Linked DNA regions of Homo sapiens: regions 2, 3, 4, 5, 6 and 7 are each linked to region 1. The links are contacts of gene promoters, found by promoter capture Hi-C in blood cells and fetal thymus (Javierre and others, 2016). All regions are on one chromosome and are shown on one strand. Each heading gives the region's core, a stretch centred on a gene start or on the middle of the fragment in contact. The rest is flanking DNA. Distances are from core to core; before and after follow the strand shown.

The links. Contacts are between HindIII fragments. The CHiCAGO score rates a contact against its expected background, and 5 or more counts as called.
Region 2: a contact is called between a fragment that was not itself captured here and the fragment with the promoter of POLR1A in region 1, in 8 of 17 cell types (erythroblasts, megakaryocytes, neutrophils and 5 more). The highest score is 12.3, in erythroblasts.
Region 3: a contact is called between a fragment that was not itself captured here and the fragment with the promoter of POLR1A in region 1, in 4 of 17 cell types (fetal thymus, naive CD4 T cells, naive CD8 T cells and 1 more). The highest score is 7.8, in fetal thymus.
Region 4: a contact is called between a fragment that was not itself captured here and the fragment with the promoter of POLR1A in region 1, in 1 of 17 cell types (megakaryocytes). The highest score is 6.5, in megakaryocytes.
Region 5: a contact is called between a fragment that was not itself captured here and the fragment with the promoter of POLR1A in region 1, in 12 of 17 cell types (fetal thymus, endothelial precursors, megakaryocytes and 9 more). The highest score is 11.4, in fetal thymus.
Region 6: a contact is called between a fragment that was not itself captured here and the fragment with the promoter of POLR1A in region 1, in 14 of 17 cell types (fetal thymus, M2 macrophages, naive B cells and 11 more). The highest score is 14.9, in fetal thymus.
Region 7: a contact is called between a fragment that was not itself captured here and the fragment with the promoter of POLR1A in region 1, in 1 of 17 cell types (megakaryocytes). The highest score is 6.0, in megakaryocytes.

Annotation. Positions count from the first base shown.
Region 1 is chr2:86,103,715-86,107,718 of GRCh38, forward strand. It overlaps POLR1A (RNA polymerase I subunit A), which reads right to left and starts at 2,172. Exons shown (of 34, transcript NM_015425.6): 1 at 1,986-2,172. The coding sequence starts at 2,062. It overlaps PTCD3 (pentatricopeptide repeat domain 3), which reads left to right and starts at 2,521. Exons shown (of 24, transcript NM_017952.6): 1 at 2,521-2,637. The coding sequence starts at 2,534. RefSeq lists enhancers at 1,692-1,781, 1,982-2,191, 2,572-2,831. The HindIII fragment of the contact is 4,349 bases long and covers 1-2,900 here.
Region 2 is chr2:85,713,891-85,717,523 of GRCh38, forward strand. It overlaps LOC124907851 (a long non-coding RNA gene), which reads left to right and starts at 1,371. Exons shown (of 2, transcript XR_007087118.1): 1 at 1,371-1,411; 2 at 2,807-3,417. The HindIII fragment of the contact is 1,019 bases long and covers 1,198-2,216 here.
Region 3 is chr2:86,447,652-86,451,344 of GRCh38, forward strand. It overlaps KDM3A (lysine demethylase 3A), which reads left to right. Exons shown (of 26, transcript NM_018433.6): 3 at 2,156-2,311; 4 at 3,452-3,562. Among named protein-coding and RNA genes, the nearest start is that of KDM3A, 8.1 kb to the left of the region's middle. The HindIII fragment of the contact is 4,402 bases long and covers 243-3,693 here.
Region 4 is chr2:86,483,558-86,487,265 of GRCh38, forward strand. KDM3A (lysine demethylase 3A) reads left to right here. Exons shown (of 26, transcript NM_018433.6): 19 at 430-601; 20 at 1,385-1,472; 21 at 2,172-2,302. Among named protein-coding and RNA genes, the nearest start is that of KDM3A, 44 kb to the left of the region's middle. The HindIII fragment of the contact is 2,517 bases long and covers 1,083-3,599 here.
Region 5 is chr2:85,741,866-85,745,712 of GRCh38, forward strand. No RefSeq gene overlaps it. Among named protein-coding and RNA genes, the nearest start is that of ATOH8, 10 kb to the right of the region's middle. The HindIII fragment of the contact is 1,868 bases long and covers 551-2,418 here.
Region 6 is chr2:85,832,256-85,836,049 of GRCh38, forward strand. No RefSeq gene overlaps it. Among named protein-coding and RNA genes, the nearest start is that of MIR6071, 50 kb to the left of the region's middle. The HindIII fragment of the contact is 8,623 bases long and covers 1-3,794 here.
Region 7 is chr2:86,465,729-86,469,397 of GRCh38, forward strand. KDM3A (lysine demethylase 3A) reads left to right here. Exons shown (of 26, transcript NM_018433.6): 10 at 644-1,155. Among named protein-coding and RNA genes, the nearest start is that of KDM3A, 26 kb to the left of the region's middle. The HindIII fragment of the contact is 6,796 bases long and covers 1-3,669 here.

The DNA.
Region 1 (4,004 bases), core at 922-3,421:
GTGACACATATAAGAAGCTCAAGGATAGTGGAGGAAGACAAATATACATAAGCACAAAAAGTCACTAAAGCACCATGACAGACAACTGTATCATGTGCAAAATGACCTCACAAAACAAGGGAGGTGAACTGAGCTTTCAGGTGTGTATGTTGGGTAGGGGACAGAGGGAAGTACCTCCTTTTGGCTGAAAGGACACTGCATGCAGAGGGAATAGCTTAAAGAAAGGCCCAGATGTTGAAATATGATGGCGGTTTCTGGAATATGCAGGTGGTTTAATAGGGCTGAAGAAGGGATGATGTTATAGCTAAAATCAGCATTGGTCTGATCATGGGAGACTTTGCAGGCTATGCTAAGAAAATATACTTTATCTGAGGGAAATGGAGAACATTTGGAGGGTTTTAAGGGTGACAGTAGCATGACTACATTTGCACTTTGCAAGAATAATTTTGACAGCAGTGTGGAGCATGCACTTGAGAGGTGTAAGGGGAGGGTGGAAGGAAAAGACAATTCAAATATGAGATAAGGGCCAGAGGCAACACAGTAGCAATTGGGAGAAAAAGGAGACTAAGAACAAATAGACATGTAGGTGACACAAAGTAAGAGCCCAATAAATAAGTTATATGTCAGGAGAGATCTAGAATAATTTTCCAGTTTCTAGTGACTATTTTGCACTACGTACACCATTTTGGAGGGGTAAGTAACCCCTCCCTTTGAAGAGGGATGCCGTGTTGAGTTTTTTTTTTTTTTTTTTTGAGACAGAGTATTGCTCTGTCGCCAGGCTGGAGTGCAGTGGCACAATCTCGGCTCACTGCAACCTCCGCCTCCTGGGTTCAAGCGATTCTCCTGCCTCAGCCTCCCGAGTAACTGGGACTACAGGTGCCCGCCACCACGCCCAGCTAATTTTTGTATTTTTAGTAGAGACGGGGTTTCACCATGTTGGCCAGGGATGGTCTCGATCTCCCGACCTCGTGATCCGCCGGCCTCGGCCTCCCAAAGTGCTGGGATTACAGGCGTGAGCCACCGTGCCCGGCCATGTTGAGTTTCTGATATGCATTTAGGCCATGTTGAGTTTTTGATATGCATTTAAGATCTCTGTGTGAAATTCAATTAAAGATGTACAGACAGCTGAACAAATGGGTCTGAAAATCAGGGAAATAAATTTGCGTTGGGGATTTAAATTTGAGACTATAAATCATGAAAGTGGTGAGATTGTCTAGGGACAATATTTACCATGAAGAAAACATTACTAGAATAGAATCTTGAAGAACATCAACATTTAAGGAGTAAAATGAGGTACAGACCTTGCTCACCAATGTGTCATTAACGCCTAGCTTGGTGCCTGGAAAAAACTGGATGCTCAATAAATGTTTGTGAGGTTATAGATCGATAGAGGAAGAGAGGGAGGTAGAAGTATTTGTCATAAAAATAGGAGAACTTGAAGACAAATAAGGTTCTGGAAGAAAGGAAAGTTTCAAGAGAGTGCATTGGAGAATGTCAAATGCTACCTTGATCAAAATGAAGACTAAAGAGAGTTCCCTTGATTTAACAACCAGACCGAGAATATAGCAGGGTCCTAGCAAAGAGAAGTTAACGCCTGAACTGACACTTGAAGGACAATCATTTTACAAACAAGAGGAAACTTACTACGTGCCTAATTAACCATGTCAGGTACACTATGGTTAATTCCACAAATGCTTGTTAGTTAACGAGGAGACTGGCAGATGATAACGCTGCAGACCAGGACCCTCCCCACCCTTATATTCCCCTACCTCAGCGCAAACTCTTTCCCCCAGCACCACCGGCCTCTTATCCAGGCAGTCCACGCCGGCCCAGGAACGTTCCCAGAACTACGGCTCCCAGCAGGACAAGCGCCAGACAAGCCTGGACTCAAGAGGATAGACTGGGCAAAAGCGCTTCTGGGAATCGTAGTTTAGGGCGCCGACCTCAAGATCCAGGCTGGGCACGCTACCCGACCAACTCCTTACTTGAGCTCTTCAGCCGAATACATCCCGAAGGAAATGCCCTGCAGCCGCCGCCAGGGCATGTTCTTGGAGATCAACATCCTCCAGGTCCGTTTTGAATTCCGACACCCCAAGAGACGTTCCACTCACCACCTGACTATTCTTAATTCAACCTCAAGCCCGGAGTCACCACGCGATTCAACGTGCGCTTGCGCGCGGAAGCGGTCGCAGGAACGACATTTACGTGGATGAGATCACTTCTACATGGGGGGGGAACAAATAGTTGTACGACTCTCTGCTCGCTCTTTTGTTTTGAAAACAATCAAAGATATATAAGACATCAAAATAATCATTTAGGAAAATTCCTCCGAGGCAAATCGGGTGTATAGAGCTTTTAGCTTCCGTGACGAAGTCTTTCAAACCATGAGCTTGCAACCTCCCATTTTATGATTGCTTTCGTCTTCTTCCGCTTCAGCCAATAGCGGAGCTGTTCCCTGCTCCCCGCCCACTGCGCCCCACCTTCCTGAAGGTCGAGGCACGCTTTCCCAACATGCTCTGCAGAGAAATCAAAGATGGCGGTTGTATCTGCTGTTCGCTGGCTGGGCCTCCGCAGCAGGCTTGGCCAGCCGCTGACGGGTCGGCGGGCGGGTTTGTGTGAACAGGCACGCAGCTGCAGGTAAGAGACGCTTAGGGTATCCGCGAAGAAGACCGCGGAGTCACCTTAGTCCTATGTTTCCCAGCTGGCTGTGGAAGTAGGCACGATGAAATGGTTTGCTCATGCGCGCCCTTAACGGTCGCGTGCCCTTAAGACCAGGTACGCGGAGGTGGCCCTTTGAAATAGGATTCGCAACGCATTTATTCATTAGAGAAATACTTATTGGTTGCTTGCAATATTCTGTAGTTAACACCATCCGCAAAGCTAGGACCCTGCTCTCATGAAGCTTGCGTTCCAGTGAGTGTGGCTATTAGCAACACTACCCCAAATTAAAAATTATCCGCCATTACTCATTTTAACCCAATCAGGAGGAGCGAGGAGAACGTACAAGATCTTCCCAAATAAAAGGCAGTCTCTGGTCGCCACCGTGGGGACTTTGGCTAAAGAAGTTATCAGGTTTTCGTAAAAGCAGAAAAGTCTAAAAGATCTGACTATGCCCTTTTGATCTGTGATAGTTATAGCTTGGAACATGTATGACCTATCTGTGTAATTTTTTTTTCACTCAGTACAAACAGTGGCATTGTGGGAATATGAGAGGCAGTAATTTGTAGTGAAAACTTGCTAAAAGCCTAATTTTAGGTTTAGTGTTTGCCATTCACTTAATTGGATGATAATAGACAGATTTCCTCATCTGCAGACTAGAGTTGGTAATAACCATCCGAAAAGTTTGTGAGGTATAAGTGGGGTATGTAATTTACAATATGTTTTTATATGTACTCTCCCTTAGTTCCCCTCAAGAAAGAGAAACCACTCCATCTGATACTGCAGAAACCTTTGTGCTGCCATTCAATGCCAGTCCTCCGTTTCCTGGTAGCCATCGTTAGCATTTTTCTACTCATTTTCTTTGCCTGAAGCAGAATCTCTTCCTCAGCATCCGTTCTCAAAATAACTGTGATCTCTGTTTTAAGGTCATGAGAAACAAATAGTGTGACTTGAAAGAGTTGATCTCAGAAACTTGAAAGAGTTGATCTCTTTCTGAAATGTCCTTAACGTAGAGGGGTATTCTTGTTTTAAATGATACCTGAAACCAGATACTACTGGAGGAAGTATCTGTCTGTGCAATCACATCTTGACAATTTTCTGAATGTTACTGATGCCATTTAGTAAGGGGAAACACAAGATAATACTAACCGTCACATTATCTGTGGTGTGTTGACTGTGTTTTTAGTGTGATCAGAACACTTAAACAGAACACTTAAAAACTCAGTCATGGGCCAATGATTCTATATTTTGGTTTAAAAAGGATTTCATATTGAACCTCTGAAAATAGAAAATATCAGCAATTCCAAGTCTAAATCAGGCCTTATGTATTTGGTACATTCTTGATT
Region 2 (3,633 bases), core at 457-2,956, 390 kb before region 1:
GAAAAGAGCAAATCAGTACTCAGCCATGGGCAGTGTTATTTTATTTGTTGAAACGATTCCACATGTGAAGGGCCACTCAAGCTAGAGTGGTGGTTCTCAACCTTGGCTGGGCCTTGGAGTCACGGGAGCTGTTGCACCTGCTGGTACTTGGTCCCGACCCTGGACAAGCTGATGAACTGCAGTGTGGCTTGGACACAGGGAGTTTTCGAAGCTCCACAAGTGATCCCAGTGTGCTGCCAGGGCAGGGCACCACTGGGACAGAGGAGGCTACAAGGCCTGGAAGAAGCACCTGGAGGAGCTGATGTGTGGTGGCTATACCTGGGGCTGAGAGCCAACGAGATCTGCTGGGAAGGTGGGGGCGTGGAGGAAAAGCTGCCTGAGCTCTGGGGTCCAGGCCTAGGGTCTTGAGTGCTGGAACATTGAGACACATGCTAACTGAAAATGAACCCTTAGCAGTCATCCAAGTCAATCCTGTCATTTTGCAGATGGGGAAATAGATCTAGAGAGGTGAAGGGATATGCCCAAGTCCCCCAGTGTTTAGAAGGAAAATTAAACATAGGTAGGCTGAGTGCGGTGGCTCACCCCTGTAAGCCTAGCACTTTGGGAGGCCGAGGCAGGCGGATCCCTTGAGCCCTGGAGTTCAAGACCAGCCTGGCCAACGTGGTGAAACCCTGTCTCTACAAAAAAAATACAAAAATTAGCTGGGCGTGGTGGCATGTGCCTGTAGTCCTAGCTACTCAAGAGGCTGAGGTGGGAGGATCACTTGAGCCGGGGAGGTCGAGACTGCAGTGAGCCATGATCACACCACTGCACCCCAGCCTGAGTGACAGAGTGAGACCCTGTCTCAAAAAACCAAAACCAAACCAAAACAAAACAAAACAAAACAAAACTAGGTATTTTGATTCCTTGTCCTGTATGGTAAGTCCTTACTTAACATTGTCAATAGGCTCCTGGAAACTGCAACTTCAAGTGAAATGGCATACAGTGGGTCCTCAAATAGTGTCATTTCATTCACTATCATTTTGTTATAACGTTAATAAGAAAAAAAATTCGTTTCACTATACGTTCTTTTGCTTCAAGTTGCAATTTCCAAGAACCTATGGACAGCGTTAAGTAAGAACTTCCTGTACTGTTCGCATTGTGGTGGTTTTAAACTATGCCCGAAAATTCTTTGATACTCCTCCCTTCAAAAGGTGAAGCTTAATTCCCCTCCCCTTGAGTTTGGTCTGGACTTAGTGACTCATTTCTTTTTAAATGTTTGATTGTTTATTTATTTATTTATTTTAGAGTCAGTGTCTTGGTCTGTCACCCGGGCTGGAGTGCAGTGGTGCAATCATAGCTCGCTGCAGCCTCGACCTCCTAGGTTTAAGTGATCCTCCTGCCTCAGCCTCCTGAGCAGCTGGGACTACAGGTATGCACCACGCTGTCTGGTTAATTTTAAAATTTTTTGTGGAGATGAAATCTTGCTATGCTGCCCAGGCTGGTCTTGAACTCCCGACCTCAAGCAATTCTCCTGCCTCGGCCTCCCAAGTTGCTTGGATTACAGGTGTGAGCCATTGTGTCTGGCCAGTGACTCACTTCTGAAGACAGAATACAGGGGAAGTGATGGTATGTGACTTCAGAGATCAGATCATAAATGGCATTGTAGCTTCTGCCTTGTTTTCTCTCTTGTGTCATTCACTCTGGGGAAAGTCAGCTGACACTCGTGAGGATGCTCAAGTGGCCTTGTGGAGAGGCCCACGTGGTGATGGGCTGAGGCCTCTCTCCAGCAGCCTCAAGTGGGCACCATCTTGGAAGCAGACCCTTTCAACCCAGGCAAGCCTTTGGAGGACTGTAGTCCTGGCTGACGTCTTGACTGCAATCTCATGGGAATCCCTGAGCCAGAACCATTCAACTAAGTCACTCTTAATTATAATTCTTGACCTGCAGAAACAGAGAAAAAAAATAAAAGTTTATTGTTTTAGGCAGCTAAGTTTTGGGGCAGTTTGTTACACAGCAATTGATAATGAATACACATACCACCCTAAAATATAATCTTTCAGAGTCAATGACATCCACAAACTCGAGTATAGTGGGAGAATATGAATGAAAAGAATAGAAGGTGTAGCAACATATTCCTTCTAAGGAAGAGTAAGGCTGGAGGGGTAGGAAAATTACTCTCCACTAATCCTTTCTGTTTATGGAGACTGGTGGGGAATGGAGAAAAGAAAGATGCAAGCTTCAAGGCGCCTGGCAGTTTTTCACTCCGCTGATGCTTACAGCCTAGAGTAGATGGCTTTTGTCTTAGCAGAGCTCAGGAAGCAGACCTGATACTGAGGAATGGTGGAGAAACAGGACTGAGCAACTTTTAAGAATCATGTGTCTAATGTGTAATAATATCATTTGTGTTGGTGTGTGACAAAACTCTCCTGGTAACTTCTAAGCCTCCTGTGAAGTCCACTGCACACACAGAGGCCTTGAGGAGCCCTAAAAAGGGGGTCAGGTTTCCAGCATGGGTCCATGCTGAACTGGGGGTGGGGATTGAGTAAGGAGAGGCCCATGTGAGGCTGGGGGCTGAGTGGAAGCTGGAGCTCAGAGCCAGAGAGAGCAGGGAGCTCCTTATGCAGCCGCATGGGTCAGGGGAGGTCAGGACACAGAAGCCATTCTGCATCTTGACAGCCTCAACCTGAATCCTGGGTGTGGGGGAAGAAGTGACAGGCATGGGAGTTCTTAGAAGTCGGCCATGCACCTGCATCTGATGAAGCGCCACGTCCGTTCTTACTAACCCCTGAGAACAATCACTTCTGCTTCCCTTCTGCCTTCCAAGTCCTGTGCAAGATCCTCTTGTTGGCAAACTCTAACCTGGGAGCATGAGGAAGAGGACTGCGGGGAACGGTTTCCAGCCCTACGTAGACATGGTGGTGGTGACGTGTTGACACATGGGGGCTCCGCTTCGGACTTCGCAATGAATAAGGCCAGGGAACTGCAGCTGATGGCTGGGTCATCCGAGAGACCTTCAATCTTTACTTTCTATAATGACAGAGCAAACCATTCTATTTGCTATTTACTTTCCTGATGGTATCTTCAAGAAACTTCTGGAAATAGGTCTTTGTGTCAACCAGAAACTGCTGGTCAGAGGATAAGTTCTGGAGTTTTCTTGTAGAGCATGGAGACTGCAGTTAATAATAACATATCATATACTTGAAGATTGCTGAGAGTAGATTCTAAACATTATTATTTATTTATTTTCTTAGTTTTTTCGCCCCACTTCAATAAGCTAGTCGAAGACAGTAGATTTTAAATGTTCTCACCACAAAAAATGGTTAAGTATGTGGGATGATAAATATGTTTGATTTACTCATTCCACAGTGTGTACGTATATCAAAGTATCATGTTGTAAACTATAAATAAATATCATTTCTTATTTGTCAATTAAAAGTGTAACACACACATATGCATGCACACTATATATAAATACATCTTTTAAAACTGCTGGTCAGGAATCAGACGGCCTCCACGGGTGGTGTCACAGGGCTGCCCCCCGCAGCCTCCCTCATGGTTCTGAGCCCTCCTCAGTCACTCTTTTGTTTAATGCTTTAATCCCTGCTTTAAGTAGGAAGCTTCCCTTCAGCTCATGGGAGGCCCTTATCTTAC
Region 3 (3,693 bases), core at 1,194-3,693, 340 kb after region 1:
CTTTTTTCATTTTGAAAAACATTGAGAGAACTTAGATTTTCTAAGTGAGGGTTCTTAACCTGGGGTGCAAGTTAGTTGGTTTCCTTTGTAATCATAAGTATTTTATTTTATACATGTAAAATCATTCTAAGAGAGATTCAGTGTAGCTGGGAATTCAAGGTCTCTGAATCTGGATCTAGAATTTGTGTGTGCTCATTCCTCTTATACCACATTGCTGATAAATAAGAAAACTGTCTACCTAAAGCTTGGTTGGGTTTGAGGTTGATGTGAATATGGAGCAGAAAGACTAGCCAATTTAGGGGAGATGTCAGAGCATATGGATTCTGTGGCTAGGAAACAGAAAGGAAGATGGGCAGTCTCTGCCCACCTTTATGAAAGACCATTTGGTTGATTACAGTGATAGAAAACATATAACCAGGGAGAAACGTATGTGGGCCTTGCCACGTGGGTGTTCACATTTATTCTGATTTGGAAAGTATTCAGTAATAACTGCAAAGTTAAAAGCCTAAAATACCAAGAAGATATGTAGTTTCCTAGGTAAAGTCGCCTGGGAGGTTAGGGATGCATGTTTTGTTGGCTGAGAAGGGTAGGATAGATCTTAGATTTCATTTATTTTTATCCTGTAGACTGGAGAAGGTTTGGGATTGGGGCTAATGTGGGAATTTAGTGCCTTCTAAGCAGGTGAGAGAAACAAGATAGGAACCCAATGCAGAGGGAAATTTATTCATTAATCTATGCTAACAAGTATTTGAGTACCAATTAGATTCCATATACTAGTGATATACAGTTGTAAGCAAAAGCAGAGACAGACTTTGACCTATTAGAATTTAATTGTCAATCAGTTAACAAATAAATAATGCAAAGTGTGGATAAGAGCTAAGACGGAAAAGTACAAAACTTTGAGTACAGTTAGTATGGGGACCTCTCTTGGGAGAGAGAGGCACTTTGGTAAGGGAAGGTTTGTTTGAGGAAAGGATATATGAATTGTGCTCTGATAGATGAAGTTAACTAGTTAATAAACTGAAGGTTGAAAAGGGATGTATGAGTGATGTCTGTAAAATGATGAACAGATTTGATAGATGATAGATGTATTAACTAATTCCTGGAAACCAAAATGAGAGACCTCTTTAGTAAGAGGAGGAATTTTAAATCAAATAAAAACAGTGATTTTTACACTGAATATCGAGGGAGTTTATTGTCATTGGTAGAATACAAAAAGCATTGAAGAGGACCTAGAGTAAGTTAAGGGGTAGCATATTTATAATAGGTTAAGGAAGCTGGAGTGTTTCAATGCTTTTATATGACTTTGAGTTTTATGGTTTTGTAAACAATTCCTACTCATAGATCACTCCCAGAAGCCCACTTTTAGACTGAATTTTCTTAATGTCTTTAAATATGTATACAGGTTTTAAGAGTTGTAGCCTTAGGGTTAAAAGTATTATGCAGGTCAGAAGCAGAAAACATTACAATTACTTGGAAAACAATATTTCAAGGTAGTTTAACTTTCATATAAGAAGCTAGAGATAGTTCTGAAAAACTTTGTGGTCATTTTGTTAATCACTCGTTTCTATGTTATCCAACAAGTAGTTTAAGACTCCAAATTCTGTGGTAAATTTCCTAGCTTATTCAACTGAAAGGGATATTGAAGATGTGCTGTATATTAGGCCTTGTGCTAAATTTACTCATTCCAGAGGAATTCAAAAGGAGGTGGTGGATTGTGGTGATGGGGGGTCATCTTAAGCCCACTTATATTGTCAATAGACAATTACAGTGCAGTTTTATTAAGTACATCTTTTGAGTTTCAAATTTTTGTCTTGCAATTCCAAAAGCTCAGATGTCTAATTAATGTATGTAAACGCCTGATAAGTAGGGGTTGTTTGGTTTCTGGGCTTCCCAGGGGTTTACTTTAGGGACACAGACTGGCCCAAAAAGCCTTGACTTCTGCATCCCGAAGTGAGTTGGGAGCCAAAGCCTGGTTCATGTGTGATTATGTATTGTGGGCTGTGACAGGAAGTGAGGGAGCTGGAAGGGGGAAAGCACATCCAGATAAAGGATTCAAATAGAATAATGAAGGTATAGTTCAGCTGGGGCATTTGTAATGCTTATTTTAATAAATTGAATCTGCTTCCCCCACCCCCCAATTTTGTCTGTCTAGGTGTGTGTGGAATTTGATGGGGAATCTTGGAGGAAAAGAAGATGGATAGAAGTCTACAGCCTTCTAAGGAGAGCATTTTTAGTAGAACATAATTTGGTTTTAGCTGAACGAAAGTCACCTGAAATTTCTGAACGAATTGTACAGTGGCCTGCAATAGTGAGTAAAACTTGGGCTTATTGAACTCCTGAGAAGAGGGCATTTTATCCATTGTGGGTACAAAAGGAATATGTAAATGTAATGCCAGAAAGTCAGAAAAGCTCCCAGGATCTCCTGCCAGCCCTTTTAAGAACTCTGCACTTCTGAGCGAGTCCCTTGACTTTGTTGGACCTCGTGTTCACTTGACAAATAGGGATGGAGGTAGTAGTGGGAATGTCTAGGTCAGAAGGCAGGAACTAGCAGTCATATGCAAACATATAGATCTGTTTGGTTTGGCCCTTGCAGTACTTTCAAAACATTTGAATTAATTGCCTACTTTAAAAAATGTGGAGAATACATCTGAAAATCTAGATTTCCATTGTCTCTTAAAAAATCTACAAGATAATGGCAACACTGGAGCCTTATGGCAGCAATGGGCTAGAGCCAAATAGTAGCTGTTGCCTTGCTCTCTGTAGGGTTTCCAGTCTTGATCTTATGATCTTTAAGGTTCCCTCTGGATTATTATATTTTTTGGCTTTAAAGATACTATAAGTCAGTATATGATTGTGCTATATCCACATTGTAAAGTGTGGTGCAAAGAGAAGAGTGAGCGCTGTCTGGAGAGGGCACTTTAGTCTTTATGGGACTTGAGCTGGTGCTTCAAGGAGGGAAGGTTGGATCTGGATAGTTTGGAAAGGCCGGGAGAATGGTTGAAGGCTGATCAGATTGTGATCTGATTTTGCCCATGAGTGAAAAGAGCTGCTATGGAGATTCTTGAGAGATGAGGGTTGTGGTTAAAGTTTTATTTTGCTCTTTGTATTTTTTTTTCCAGCTGTTTAGAACTGGTTAAAAACACAGGCCTGTCTCCCCAGAGAAGTGTGCATACAAACAGTTTTTGCATAAATTTTTGGGACACCATGAATCTGTGAACCCAGTCTTGAATATTAATAACTCCCAAATGTCTATCTGGTTTAAATTATTGGGTTTGAATAAAAATTGTATTATCTATGGCTGCATAAATAGTTGTTATGAGATAACTTGCAGTAAATAAAAAAAATTAGTGGCTTTATCACTTTCTCTGTGTGTGGAAAATTGCCAGTTCCTATTTTCAGAATTATGCTGACAGCAGTTATGATGCTAAAGTGTTTTCTTTTGTTTTAGACGTACAAACCTCTGTTGGACAAAGCTGGTTTGGGATCCATAACTTCTGTTCGCTTTCTGGGAGATCAACAAAGAGTATTTCTTTCTAAAGACCTTTTGAAGCCTATACAGGTAAAACATAGAAACAGTAGTAAACATTAGAAACAGAAATACGAACTCCTTTAACATGAGAAGTAAAGTACAGTTGAACCTTAAATAGTGTGGGTATTATGGATGCCTACTCCTTGCACAGTAAAACATCT
Region 4 (3,708 bases), core at 1,091-3,590, 380 kb after region 1:
ACCCTCACACAGCCAGTAGTAGTGAGGGGTGTCACAGGCCATATTCCTGCTTGGCAATAACAGGCTCAAGTACGGTGGGGTCAGTCACCCTGTTTCACTGGTGACTGGTGTCACTGGACACTCCTTCCAGCGCTTGTCTTCTTCACAGTCCGTCTTGCTGTAAGTAATGAGATCTTACTAGGAGAGGTGATCCTTTCTCCTAGATGCTTACCCATGTAGTTTGAGAGCAAGGGTGTGTAGCAGATGAATGGTGAAGGTTGGAGGTGCTTTGGGAGCTCAGAGAACTAAGCCGAAACTGTCACATCACCATCTGAGACGGAGCACCAGCTCCATGGAAATATACCAATAGCAGTGTGAAGAGGGACTGCCTTCGGGAGTGGGGACAGAGCTGGCAGAGTTCAGACTAAAGTTTTCCTTCTCTTCATTTAGCCAGTGATGGTGTCTGGAGTGCATCATAAATTGAACTCTGAACTTTGGAAACCTGAATCCTTCAGGAAAGAGTTTGGTGAGCAGGAAGTAGACCTAGTTAATTGTAGGACCAATGAAATCATCACAGGAGCCACAGTAGGAGACTTCTGGGATGGATTTGAAGATGTTCCAAGTATGTATGAAAGATCTTTTAAGGGGGTTGGGGATGTGAAAGGAGGGGACACAGGAATGGCAGGAGTCTGAGACCCATCAGTGGCAGCCGCAGCATTTTCCAGGATTTTGGAGTTTAAAATTAACGTCTCTCCTCCCCTTCCTTGTTACAATGTTTATGCTTTTAAACACTGAGGCATTATTACCTGTTCTGTTGGTCTTTGTTGTCCCTGGACAGAACATCAGATAGGGTCAGTCTCTCTCTCTGAGCAGAATAAGTAATTTCTGTTGCATGCTGGCCTCAGAAAAATGGGTTTACTAAACACCTGTGACCCTTGATGGTTGACGTGCATTGCTGTTGGTTAGTTGGGATGCTGCTCACTTCTTCTGGAACACTGTAGAGGAGGAGCAGATTGGATCGATGACAGCTGTTGAAATACCACCTACATGCAGTGGGCAAAAGGGAGCGGCTGAATCTCCCAAGAATGAGTAGCAGCTTAATAAGCTTCTAGGAAAGACAAGGCCCTGACACAGATCCATTAGTTGGTGATCTTTATTTTGCTGCACCTTGCTGCCTCCTGGGTACAAATGGATTTTTTTACACTGCAGAAATAAAATGGTGGATAGTTGGTAGGAGGGGAAAATTAAGGAAAAGTAATATTTGTATACTAAATTTATCAGGTTATGAAAATTTTGCAGAGACATATTTTATTTGTATTGTTGAGGCATAAAATGCTAATTTGTCATTTATTTTGGTCTGTTTCTGAATTATAAATAGTAATAGTTCATTCTGTTTACCTTTCAGATCGTTTGAAAAATGAAAAAGAACCAATGGTGTTGAAACTTAAGGACTGGCCACCAGGAGAAGATTTTAGAGATATGATGCCTTCCAGGTATGATTATGAAGGTGGGGAGAGATGATTCTGTCCTTCACTTGGTAGGATAAATTCTTTTTTGAGGTAGTGAGAAAACAGTTTTCAAGAAAATAACAAAAGTTCTGTAATTATACTGCCACTGATTTTTCATTTCTAGTCTGTAGTCATTGGAGGCATGTTTATTTTTAGATGAGATGAAGAAGTGATTGGCTTTTAGGCCTGGCTGACTAATGGAACACCACAGATTTTCCATGGTAGGCCCTGCTAGAGAAGAGGCTCACTTTTTCTTACAAGGCTGATTTGGAGGCAGTTGTGGAATCTGACCTGTCAGGGTCAGGACAATGTAGTCACAGCACTGAGTTAGACAAGAAGACATCTACTGGGTAGATCTATTTTCCTGACTGAGCTTGAAACTTTGAAAAGGGTGTCACAACTAATCAATGATATATCTCTAAGAATAACTTTTTGTCTAGAATTTATTGCTGAGATCTTTTGTCTGAACGGTTACAGCTGATTTTGACACATTGGTGTGTTGTAGGAGAGAGAGAAGACATCTTTGTAACTGCTGTACTTCTCATCTTAAATATTTGATGGCTGTCAGTCTGCATGATCACAGATGGATTTGTTCCTTTTGGTGTAGAAGGAACAAAACAGGTTACACAATAATGAATTAGAAAAGCAATCTAACTTTGCAAATTCCTGGTTCTGTTGTTCTAGGTTTGATGATCTGATGGCCAACATTCCACTGCCCGAGTACACAAGGCGAGATGGCAAACTGAATTTGGCCTCTAGGCTGCCAAACTACTTTGTTCGGCCAGATCTGGGCCCCAAGATGTATAATGCTTATGGTAAGGAGGAGATGGCTAACTTTAAAATGGAAATAAAACAATTCAAAATGTTTGGAAAATTGATTTTGTGGGAGGGAGAGGTGGAAAACACCCATAATCCTAATGCGTAATACAGCCACAGCTTTCATTTTTACATATTTCCTTTCGTTCCCTGGCCACATGTTTGTGTGTTTCTTTTCATAGTTGCAGTTGTAGGGCATATGCAATTTTGTGTTTTTCCCTTTACTGTACCTAATTTTACATTGTAAAATCTTTACATGTTACTTAATAGTCTTTAGATGACTTTTAATGGTGTGTGATACATCATTGAGAGAATGTACTTTTATTAGTGATTTCAGTGTTCGGACATTTAGGTCAATCTGCTGGCATTCTAGCTGTCTTAACATCTGCTACAATTAAATGCAGTGTTCTGTGTTGTTGAGTAGAAGTTAGTTACTTAGGATTCAAAGTACCCTTTGAGTTGGACTTTTATTCTTTTGACATGACTCAATACTCACTGTCTAACAAGGAGGATGCCTGGGATAAAGATTGGTTTCTCCATTTACCAGAGCTTTCTTTCATCATCATTATAACTGAGATCTTCGTCAGTTTTACACATGGCCTTTAATTAGGGCTGGATTCGAGTTGGCCATTTTGAAGGAAGTATGTATTGTTGAATGCAGTTCTAGTTGTTTGAATATTTCAGTGAATTTTATTTACTCATTTTTACTATTTGGCCCCTACTTTTCCAGTCCTCCTGGAAATTACTTATTTCTTCCTGCCATAATTACTTCCATGTCATTTTCCATTTCTAGCCTTAGACCTGTGGGTGTCTTTCTCAAAAAGGACAAGGTCTGTTGTTGTCTTCGCTATGTTCTCCAAAGACTGTTGGGGGAGGGAAGGGAAGGAGGGGCAAGGACTCCAGCCCCACAATTCTGTTACGGTTGAGTCAGCTCAGGGAACCACTAGGAGTGTAGTTGGGGACTGTTGTGACAGGGGAGTGTTTTTGTGTGCAAGCTCCCAGCAGTCTCCATGCCCAAGATAGTTCTGCCAGGGTAGGGGTACCAGAGAAATTGTGTGTGGGTGAGAAGACCCGGTGGGCACAAGGCCTCTTGCCTGTTCCTCACTTCTCAGGTCTCTGTTGGTGAGTCCTCCATGTGCTGTGGGTCTGCAGTGTGCTCTCTCGAGGTCCTGTCCCTCGAGCCCCTCAGAGACTGATTAAAGCAGCTGCATGGTTGGGATCTTGGGCAAACTTAAGTATATAAGAGCATTTTTCCAATAAATTGTATAGTTTATCCATGCTTTATAGAAATCCTGAAGCTTTAAAGGTGGGTATCTGAGAAATTTTCAAAAGAATTGCTTGCGTGGTTTAACTAGCTTGGCAGCGGGTCTTTCCCCCTAGACACTAATAGATGGCAGTGTTACTC
Region 5 (3,847 bases), core at 235-2,734, 360 kb before region 1:
GGGGGCTGACCTTCGGCATCAAACGCCTGGCCCTTGACTCACAGCTCCCCTGTTCTGACACCCGGCCTTTGCCTGACCCCATGGGCAGGCCTGGGCGCCAGCCTTGCCCCCCCTGGCTGGCCCGTCCCCCTGCCGCCTGAGCCTGGGTTATGACATCTTTCCACTGAGCAGCTCTTATTTTGAGAAGGCAAACACGGCGGCGCCCACAGGCATGTGCACACGCCAGCACACGCACACACATACCCTGTCCATCCCCGGACTCCTCGCGCACTGGGGTTAAAATGTGGCTGGCCATGTTTATTTTTCTTCCTCTAATTTCCCCTTTGGAACAAACAACAGTCCTGTAACCCCGATCACCCTCCCCTTTCAGATCTGTGGTCTCCCACCACCCTTCTCCCGGGTCCTCCCCTCGCAGCTGTGAATGAGAACAGAGTAAGTCTTTTAGCGGGAGGCAGCAGCCTGAATGAATTGATCACAGCCTCAAAGCCAGCAGGATGGGGGGATGGTGAGCATGTGTGTTTGCTTCTTAAACGCTATTTGTACACCCTGAAGCTTCTATTTTTCCATGTGACTTGGAGCAAATGCCTTCCCCCAGCCCTCCATCCTTTTAAAATTTATTTCATTTCATTTTTGGTCCAATGCATTTTGTTTTCTGTTTTCTACAAGGGAGCCCGAATCAGGGCCTCAGAAAAACAAGGCCGAGCTGCCAACTGGAAATGTTTGCTCTGGGGGCGAGTTCGGAGGCTGGCGTCAGGCGGGGCAAGATCCGTGCCAGTGGAATGTGATTTGGGGAGGAAGCTGCAGGTCACTCAATCGCTGGCAGCCAGCCCGGGAGCAACTGGATGCTTTCTGGGCTGTGTGTGTGTGTGTGTGTGTGTGTGTGTGTGTGTGTGTGTGTGTATGTAGAGTTTTTTCCCTCATGCAAACAGAGCTCTGGAGACATGGAGACAGAAGCATTAGGAACAAATGAGACAGGGGGTTGGAAAATCAGGGGATCTGGGGGAATAAGGTGGGCTGGGGCGGGGAGAGGGTGCCAGGAGCTTGAGCAGCCATGTTATTCAGCATGTGCTGTGTGTTCAGCTCTGAGCTGGGAGCCTGCAGGAGCAAGGAGGGCTGCAAACCACATCAGCCCCCAGTGATCTGTGGGTTCTTTGGAGAAACAAGGCTTTCAGTATAGAACACTGGCAGGTGAGCCTGGAAGTTCCCAAGAGCGGAGTGTGTTCCTCTGGGCTGAGTGTGTCCAGGGAAGGCTTCCTGAAGGAGGTGTGGTAGGATCAGAGCCCTGAAGCATGTATGGTACTGCACTGAGAGGAGAGGAGAGACGTTCAAGGTGCAGTTATTAGCTGCCATCTGCCAAGCCCTGTGCTCAGCCCTTTACATTGATAATCTCCCTTTAATCCTCACAACAACCCTATGAGGGCCAGTAATCTTTCTATCCTAGCTTTGCAAACAAGGAAACTGAGGCCCGGTGAGATCAAGGAACTCAGCCAAACTCCCAGCTTGTAGGTGGTGAGCCAAGGGTCAATTCGGGACCATCCTTGTCCAAAGCCTGGGCTCTGTCCACCACCGCTGAGGGCCACTTTTCACTTAGCCGAGTTCCTTGTGGAAGGGCTTGTTTTCCCTGCCCCACTCAAAAGAGGATTGTTGAATTCAAGATGGGGAATGTTGGGGACCTAAGATGCCAGGGTAGACTTCCAGGGGGCAGTGTGACAAACGCTCCGAAGCCAGAGAGATAAACTACCTTGTTTCCTTGTTCCCAGGAGGTAGTGGCTGGGCCCCTTGGCAGTCCCCCCAGGGTTCATATCAGGTCAGCCCTCTCCTGCAGCCTACCCCCCTTACCAATGACCCACGCCACCCTCACACTCCCCCACACACCCCCATCACATGTCAAGTTCTTTGCCACCCCAAAGTGAAGGTCCGCCCACTTCCAGGAGTCCTCAGAAGTTATCTGTGTTGTTCTGAGTCACGCACGAAACTCAGTGAACCAGACAGAATGGATTTTCCCCAGGCAGCCACCACAACCCTGGAGTTGGAATCAGGAGACCTGAGCCAACTGAGTGGGGGGCAATTGGTTAAAGTCAACAGTCTACCTCCTGTGTGATATCAAGTGAGCCATGTCCATTCTTGAGCCTCAGTTTCCTCAGTTTTAAAATGAGGAGTGGCCTGAATGGTTTTTGAGCTGTCACAGATGGAAGGAGAGGCTCTAAGGCAGTGGAACTATCTGCAGGTGTTGGAAGGGTCAGTCAGGAAGACTTTCTCGAGGTGTTCAGCCCACTGCAGAAGGATTCTCTGGCAGAGGAAGCAGGATCTGTCACGGGCTCAAAAGGGGAAAGGAAAGAAGCCAGGCTGGAAGGGCAGGAGGAGATGATGGTGAGGGAGGTAGAGTCCTGGCCAGGGTGGCTAGAACACCTTGACTCAAGCTTGTCTGGTAGTAATCAGACGGCCAGTGATCCATCTGATTAGAACAACTTTGTTGACCACTTGGGAGTTCTATTGTCTTGAGCTCAGATAGTTGGTTAGCCTCCCCCATGAACTCTTTTTGGCCAAACTGAGCACTAACGTTAGGTAGACACTGGCTTGGGGCTTACCTGGGCCTGATACATCACCTACATTGGTTGAACTGACCAGTCGATTCCACGAGACAACTAATTTTACCGATTATTTCCAGGAAACAGGCAGTTTATAGCATTAACTAAAATCAGCAGTTGTTCTGGCTTTTTGGAGACAGTCTTTGGATCTGACATCTTCAGTCCTCAGAGACATTCAGGCTACCTGCCACTGACCAACAGTAGTCAGATTCCTGAGAAGGCTGGGAAAAACCCTACCAACAACGGGCGTCAGGACTCAGTCTCTCTCATCAAAAAAAAAAAAAAAAAAAAAAAAAGGCAGGATCGAACTAGACCAGGAGTGGCAAACACATGGTGTGAATCCTGCCACTCCTTTTCTTTCATCCATGGCAGACATTGCTAATCAATTATAGCACTCATTCCCAAAGGGACCCAGATGCAGCCTCAGGATCCTTTTCAACACAGAGCTTCAGGCAGCCTCTACCAATCAATTAGATTTGGCATGCGTGATAAAAAGCATTTGTCCTCTGGACTAGATGATCTCCAAGCCTCCCTCCAGCTGTGCTGATCTAGAATTGCAACTGATTAGGCATCTTGAGGACTCAGCCTGGGGACCACCAGGTCTACAGCTGTCCCTGGGGCATCCAGGTCTGTGGGGCTGCCCTCGAGCTGGTGCCTTATTAATTTTCCTCACTGCTAATAAATGTGCATTGCGTCAGCTCTGTTCTGCCCCCTCATGTTCTCTGGCTGCTGCCATCAGTGGGGACTTTTTCAGAGAGCTGCAAAAATAGTTTTTTGTTGTTGTTGTTTGAGGAGCCTACACAGAAGCAGCAGCCAAGGCTTTTTTGCTTCCTTTCTTTTCTGAGGGAATGGGGAAATGCGGAGGGAAGACCTCACAATGAAGGAATGTGCTCCTTGGGGAACTGAAAGTTGTTTTCCTTAAAGAAGAAGAAGATGAAGAAGAAGTCAGCACACTCTAACTTCACATCTAGCCGCAAAGCACATCTGCAGGGATTGCTAACAGCTCCCAGGAGATCGCTGGCTCAAGCCAAGCCTGGTTAGGCTGTTGACAACTAGGTCCTGATGAGCAGAGCCCTAATGAGCAGCTTGCTCACTGTCTGCCCTCCCGGCTCATCCCTCGTTGATGTTCATTGGGCTCATCGAGGCCCTGGGAGACAGTTTTTCTTGCCTGCGATGGATGTTAGGCATGCAGGGGAGCTCACTTTCTCACGGGTGAATGTTTCACTTTTCCCCACTGCTGTGCTCTGGGGTTTTTAAGA
Region 6 (3,794 bases), core at 446-2,945, 270 kb before region 1:
TGTAGTCCTAGCTACACAGGAGGCTGTGGTGGGAGGATTGCTTGAGCCCAGGAGTTTGAGGCCAGCCTGCACAGCATGGTGAGACTCTGTCTCTACACAAAATAATTTGCTGGGCACAGCAGTGCCTGTAGTCCCAGCTACTTGGGAGGCTGAGGGAGGAGGATTGCTTGAGCCCAAGCATTCGAGCCTGCAGTGAGCTATGATAGTTTTCAAGATACTAGAAAAGTAAAAGAAAAGAAACTAAAAAAAGGAAAAGAAGAAAAAACTCACTAATGTGCAAAAAGAAAATATTTGAAGGTTTAAAACCCACTGGTAAAATTAAATACATGGATAAACCCAGTATTACTTTAATACTGTAATTGTGGTATATAATCCACATCATAACTATGGTATACAAATCTATCTATCTAGTATAAAGCCCCAAATACAAATCTATCAAAAACAATAATAGTTATAGCAACCTATTAAGAGATAGGGAATATCGGCCAGGTGTGGTGGCTCACGCCTGTAATCGCAGCACTTTGGGAGGCCGAGGTGGGCAGATTACGAGATCAGGAGATCGAGACCATCCTGGCTAACATGGTGAAACCCCATCTCTACTAAAAATCCCAAAAATTAGCTGGGCGTGGTGGCAGGCACCTGTAGTCCCAGCTACTTAGGAGGCTGAGCCAGAAGAATGGTGAGAACCCAGGAGTTGGAGCTTGCAGTGAGCCAAGATTGCACCACTGCACTCTGGCCTGGGTGACAGAGCAAGACTCTGTCTCAAAAAAAAAAATTAAAAAAAAAAAGGGAGATAGGGAATATAAAGATATATAAATTGAGATAATATAAAGCCAAAATGTGGGGAGGATGAAGTTAAAGTGTAGAGGTTTTTTCAGTTTTTTGTTTTTACATTTTTCTTTGTTTCTATTTTCTGTGTGATCTATGCTGCCATCTCTTTAAAATAACTTGTTGTATCTGTAAGATTTTTTTGGTAAGCCTGATGGTAACCACAATGCAAAAATCTATAATAGATTCACTAAAAATAAAAAGCAATGCGTTAAAACATACTATCAGAGAAAATCACTTACCACAAAGGAAGACAGTAAGAAAGGAAGAGAGGAGTTACAAAACAACCAGAAAACAAGCAACAAAATGGCAGTAGTAAGTCCTTACCTATCAACAAAAACACTGAATGTAAATGGACTCAGTTCTCCAATTAAAAGACATAGAATGGCTAAATGGATAAAGAAATAAGACCTGACTATATGCTGCCTACAAGAAGATCATTTCACTTCTAACGTGAAGGGATGGAAAAAGATATTCTATGTAATTGGAAACCAAAAAAGAGCAGGAGTAAGTAGCTGATATAAGTAAGTACTTACATCAGATAAAACAGACTACAGATCAAAGACTGTAAAAAGAGACAAAGAAGATCACTAATGATAAAGGGAATAATTCAGCAGGAGGAAATATGTATCAATATCTATGTACTGAACAACAGAGCTCTCAAGTATATAATGCGAACATTAACAAATCTAAAGGGAGAGATAGACTGCAATACAATAATAGTAGGGGACTTCAACATGCTACTATATGTGATGGACAGGTCATCCAGACAGAAAATCAAGAAACACTGGAGTTAAACTACACACCAGATCAAATTAGGCCTGACACTTACAGAACATTTTACCCAACTGCTGCAGAATACACATTTTCTTCATCAGCACATGGAACATTCTCCAAAACAGACTGTATATTAGGCCACAAAACAAGTCTCAACAAATGCAAAAAAGTAGAAATCATATCAAGTATATTTTCTGATCACAATGGAATAAAACTAGAAATAACAAGGGGGGCCTTGGGAAATACACAAACACATGGAAATTAACACACTCCTGAATGACCTAGGGCCAATAAGGAAATTAAGAAAATTTTAAAAATTTCTGGAAACAAATGAAAATGGAAAATGACATATCAAAATGTGTAGAATACAACAAAAATAGTACTAAGAGGGAATTTTATAGCAATAAATGCCTGTAACAAAAAAGTAGAAAGACTTCAAATAAACAACCTAATGATGTACCTCAAAAAACTAGAAAAGAACAAACTAAACTCAAAATTAGAAGAAAAGATATAAAATTCAGAGCAGCAATAAATGGAGACTAAAAAATAAAGAAAATCAATGAAATGAAAAGGTTTTTTTTTTTTGGCAAAAACTAAATTGACAAACCTTTAGCTAGATTAACTAAGAGAGAAGACTCAAATAAATAAAATTGTAAATGAAACAGGAGACATAACAACTGATGCCACAGACATACAAAAAATCATTAGAAGCTGTTATGAACAACTACATGCCAACAAGTTGGAAAACCTAGAACAAATGGGCAAATTCCTGGACACATACAACCTACCAAGATTGAAACCATGAAGAAATAGAAAATTTCAACAAACCACTAATGAGTCATGAGATTGAAGCCATAATAAAATGTCTCCCATCAAAGAAAAGTCTAGGACCTGATTGCATTATTGCTGAATTCTACCAAACATTTAAAGAAGAATGATGACCAATTCCATTCAAATGCTTCATAAAAATTGAAGAGAAGGGAATATTTCCAAACTCATTCTATAAGGCTTGCATTACCCTGATACCAAACCAGACAAAGACACAACCAAAAAAGAGAACTATAGGCCAATATCACTGATGAACATAGATGCAAAAATCCTCAAAAAAATACTAGCAAATGGAATTCAACAACACATTAAAAAGATAATTCATCATGATCAAATAGGATTCATCCTAGGGATGCAAGGATGGTTCAACATACAAATCAATAAACACAATATATCGCATTAAGAGAACCAAGAACAAGAACGATATGATTATTTCAATAGATGCTGAAAAAGCATTCAATAAATTAAACATGCCTTTATAAGAAAAAAACCTTCAACAAACTAGGTATAGAAGAAACATACTTCAAAATAATAAAGGTCATTAGCTATGAAAAACTCCTAGCTAATATAATACTGATAGGGAAAAACTGAAACCCTTTTCTTTAAAATCCGGAACCAGACAAAGATGCCCACTTTCACCACTTTTATTTGACCTACTACTCGAAGTTTCAGGGCAATAAGGCAAGAGAAAGAAATAAAGGGCATCAAAGAAAGAAGTTTAAATTAGTCTTGTTTGCAGATGACATGATATTATACTTAGAAAAACCTAAAGACTCCACCAAACAACTGTTGGAACTGATAAGTGAATTCAGTAAAGTTGCAGCATTCAAAATCAACATACAAAAATCAATAGCATTTACATATCCCAAGAACAACAATCTGAAAAAGAAATCAAGAAATCAATTTCATTTATGGTAGCTACAAAGAATACAAAATACCTAGGAATCAATTTAACCAAAGATGTGAAAGATCTATCCAAAGACAACTATAAAACACTAATGAAAGAAACTGAAGAGGGCACCCCAAAATGGAAAGATATTTCACGCTCATGGACCCGATGACATTCTTCACAGAAATAGAAAAAATAATTCCAAAATTTACATGGAACCACAAAAGACCCCAAATAGCCAAAGCAATCCTGAGCAAAAAGAACAAAGCTATAGGAATCACACTACCTGACTTCAAAATATACTACAAAGCTATAGTAACCAAAACATCATGGTACTGGCATGCAAAGACATCAGACCAATGGAACAGAATAGAGAACCCAGACCCAGATATAAATCCATGCGTTTATAGCCAACTCATTTTTGACAAAGGCACCAAGAACATACAATGGGGAAAGGAGAGAGTCTCTTCAA
Region 7 (3,669 bases), core at 238-2,737, 360 kb after region 1:
ATTTTGTGTGAATATCTTTGAAGGGATTTCTAACATTTTTTATATACGTATATATTTTAGAATTTTTATCTTGACACATTGACCTTTACTAGAGGTTCAATTTTTGACTCTTGGCAAGTAGCAAGAATGGAGTTTTATCTTTAAAATTCAAACATAATCTTTACTATAGAAGAAAGAGTTTTAGCAGAGGTTTCTCTGAAATTTACACACAAAAAAAAAAAAAAAAAAAGAAGAAAGAAAACTTTCGGAATTGCCCCTACACAGACTTCTGGTTTTGATACTTATAAACCAGCTTATCTGCTGAGTATATTCTTTGGTTTCATACAATATTTTGTTTTGAGGGAAAGCTAAGGTTCATTGTGCTGTGAGAAGTAGAACTAACGTAAGAAGTTAAAGATTTCTGAGAACGTGCAGACATAATTTAGGGTTGTATTTTTCTGAGTGTTTATGATTTTTGCAGAACCATTGACTGATGACTTTTAACTCTAGCTCACAGAAATCTATCCTAAATTCTGTAACATATGAGAAATTTTCTTTTTTCTTTCATACTCGTTACCTTAGGGAACCAAACAGTTTGTTTGGGGAAGATAATGGAGAGATAAAAAGAGGCCTGGATGCTAGCTTTCTATATTATATTTTTCAGATGTCATAAACAAAGTTTACCAGAGGAAATTTCTTCCTGTCTAAATACAAAGTCTGAAGCTCTGAGAACAAAACCAGATGTCTGCAAAGCAGGGTTGCTCTCAAAGTCCTCTCAGATTGGAACTGGAGACTTGAAAATTCTGACTGAGCCAAAAGGCAGCTGTACTCAGCCTAAGACAAACACTGATCAGGAAAACAGATTGGAGTCTGTTCCACAAGCATTGACTGGCCTTCCTAAGGAGTGCTTACCTACAAAGGCTTCTTCTAAGGCAGAATTGGAAATTGCCAATCCTCCTGAACTGCAGAAGCACCTAGAACATGCACCTTCCCCATCGGATGTTTCAAATGCACCAGAAGTGAAAGCAGGTGTCAATAGTGATAGCCCTAATAACTGTTCAGGAAAAAAGGTAGAACCTTCAGCTTTAGCTTGCCGATCACAGAATTTAAAGGAATCTTCAGTAAAAGTAGATAATGAAAGCTGTTGTTCAAGAAGCAACAATAAAATCCAGAATGGTGAGTGTTTCTCAATATCTTTATTGGTAGAAGGTAAGAAATGGTAGATATATATATCTCTTTCTTGTCCTATGAGAAACTATGTGAAAATGACTTTGTAGAAATAGTTTATACAGTCAGAAAAGTTGAAAGAAGGTATAATTCCCAAATCTCAGAAACGATTACTGTTAATATTTTGGTGTACCTGGTTTCATGTATATAGAAATACAGATAAACTGTATTACACAAATGGGTTCATGCCAATAATTTTACCCTGTGAATTAGTGTAGGTGTCTATTAGTATTTTAAAGCAAGGATTCCATTATGTTCATTTACCATAGGATTTAACTGGTTCCTATTAGGTGGGTAATTAGGTGGTTCCCAATTCTTAGGTTAAGAAAATTTTGAAACAAAATCTAAAGTAATCTGGTGTTTACTTTATTTCAGCTTGTCACTGATCTTTCTGTTACATCCAGGTTGGAGTAGGAAGAGGTGATCTGTGACAGGTAGCTAAGATTTGAAATTTTAGAAAAGATGCAGAATTGTATCATTTCTGGAAAAAGGACTTGGGTTAAAGATGTTACGGATAGGGCTGAACTACCAGGAAGAGTCTCTTTGCTTAAGGGGAGGTCCTGCTGCACCCACAATTTAAAACTACTCTTCTTATGGGGAAATTGGTACGTTGTACTTGATGCTACTTATATGAAGTTTGAGGATGCATTATAATGGTGGTAGTTATCAGAAGCTCTGTTACTAGAGTTAGAAGAACAAAATGTTTTCAGCATGTCAAAAGGTTTAGAGCTATTAGAATTTAAAGATGCCTTTTGATCACTGTTAGCTATGTGGGAAATTGATATGGATTTTGTTAATGTTTTAGGCTGGGCATAGTAGCTAACACCTGTAATCCTAATACTTTGGGAGACCACTGTGGGAGGATTGCTTCAGACCAGGAGTTTGAGACCAGCCTGGGCAACATAGTGAGACCCCATCTCCACAAAAAATTTTTTTAAAAATCAGCCAGGCATGGTGGGGCACACCTGTTATTCCTAGCTACTGGAGAAGCTGAGGCAGGGGGGTTGCTTGACCCCAGGAGTTGGAGGCTGCGGTGAGTTATGATTGTACCACTGTACTCTAGCCTGGGCAACAGAGTGAGAGCTTGGCTCAAAAAACAAACAAACGAAAACAACCTACGAAAACAATTTATTTATTTGGATCAGTAAAAATGAATATATCTACACTATCTTTTTAACTGCAGGCCTCTGTGAAATTAGAGGGCAAGATGGCTGGATTTGACTTGCGAATCTTTTTAGTATAGCATTGGAAGAATAGAAAGAACTTTCTTTGCCTAGCAATACTTCTAACCTAGCTTCTTCATTGAGGCTTAAGTTAATATAGCTGTTAATTTGCATAAAATTAATTGCATAAGATTATCCTGTTCTCAGAAATTAGGTAACACTCAAAAGAAAGTACATATTCATAACCATATCCTTGTTCTATTTGTTGTTTTTGAATCATCAGCTCTCACACACAGCTAGTTTTTGAAGCAAATTTAATATTATGTGACGAAACAGTAAAGATTCTAGTGCAATAAGCACATGATAGATACACAAGTGAGTTACGGAGTCCAGCTTTGTCTCATTTAATATGTTATGTAGCTATTCCCCATCTAATGGATTTTAAAAGAAGTGAAAAACTTACATCCTGGAGTAGCACATCCTGCTATCTACTGTGACTTTTTTTTTTTGGTTGAGGTGTGAGAGTGTGATCAGAAGCCTACCGGGACTTCTGAGCTGTGTCCACTAGTACTGCATGTTAGTACAGAAGGCTTGGAAAACTTTTCTGCTCCTTTCTTCCACTTGGGGTCTAGAAAACAAAAGCAAACTGGAGTCAAACAGCTGCCTTTTTTTCCGTTCAGATAGATACGTGGCTCCTCGGAAGTGGGCGTTGCATTTTTCTCTTGACTTGGCTTTGAATTCAGAGAATCACTGATGGTAGCACCTGTTGCTCTCCTCAGTAAAGAGCTAGATTTAGACAGTTCAGCTTTCTTGTTTCTAGATATTTCCTCTTGTGAGCCAGGATAGAACAGATAAGATAACCTTCTTGCCTGTGATCTGTGGAAGCCTGGCTCAACTCAAAGGATGTCTTTCAATATCTGAGTAATTAAAATTACATCCTTGAACTACTAATCTCTTTATTTTCTCTCCTTTCTTACTTTACCTTCTCTTTCACTATAACTGAGTAGGAGTGTTTAAGGGATCAAGGACTAACAGCATCATGTAGAAATTTACATGTGGTCTAGTCCTGCTTTAAAAGAGAGGTAAGATTAGATCACCTCTAAGGTAATTATTGAAGATGTTTACTTTATTTAAAACCTTCTTTGGTTTGGGATCTTCCAATTTTCTCCAAGACTCACCTCTCCCACCCATCTCTCAACTAGTTCCCCAGAAGCTGTTGGTTTTTGACTTTCGTTTGTTTGCCTAAAAACCCACTTCCCTCTTCTCAGCTCTCTGGGACCCTAAGAAAAGGTCTTTTCTG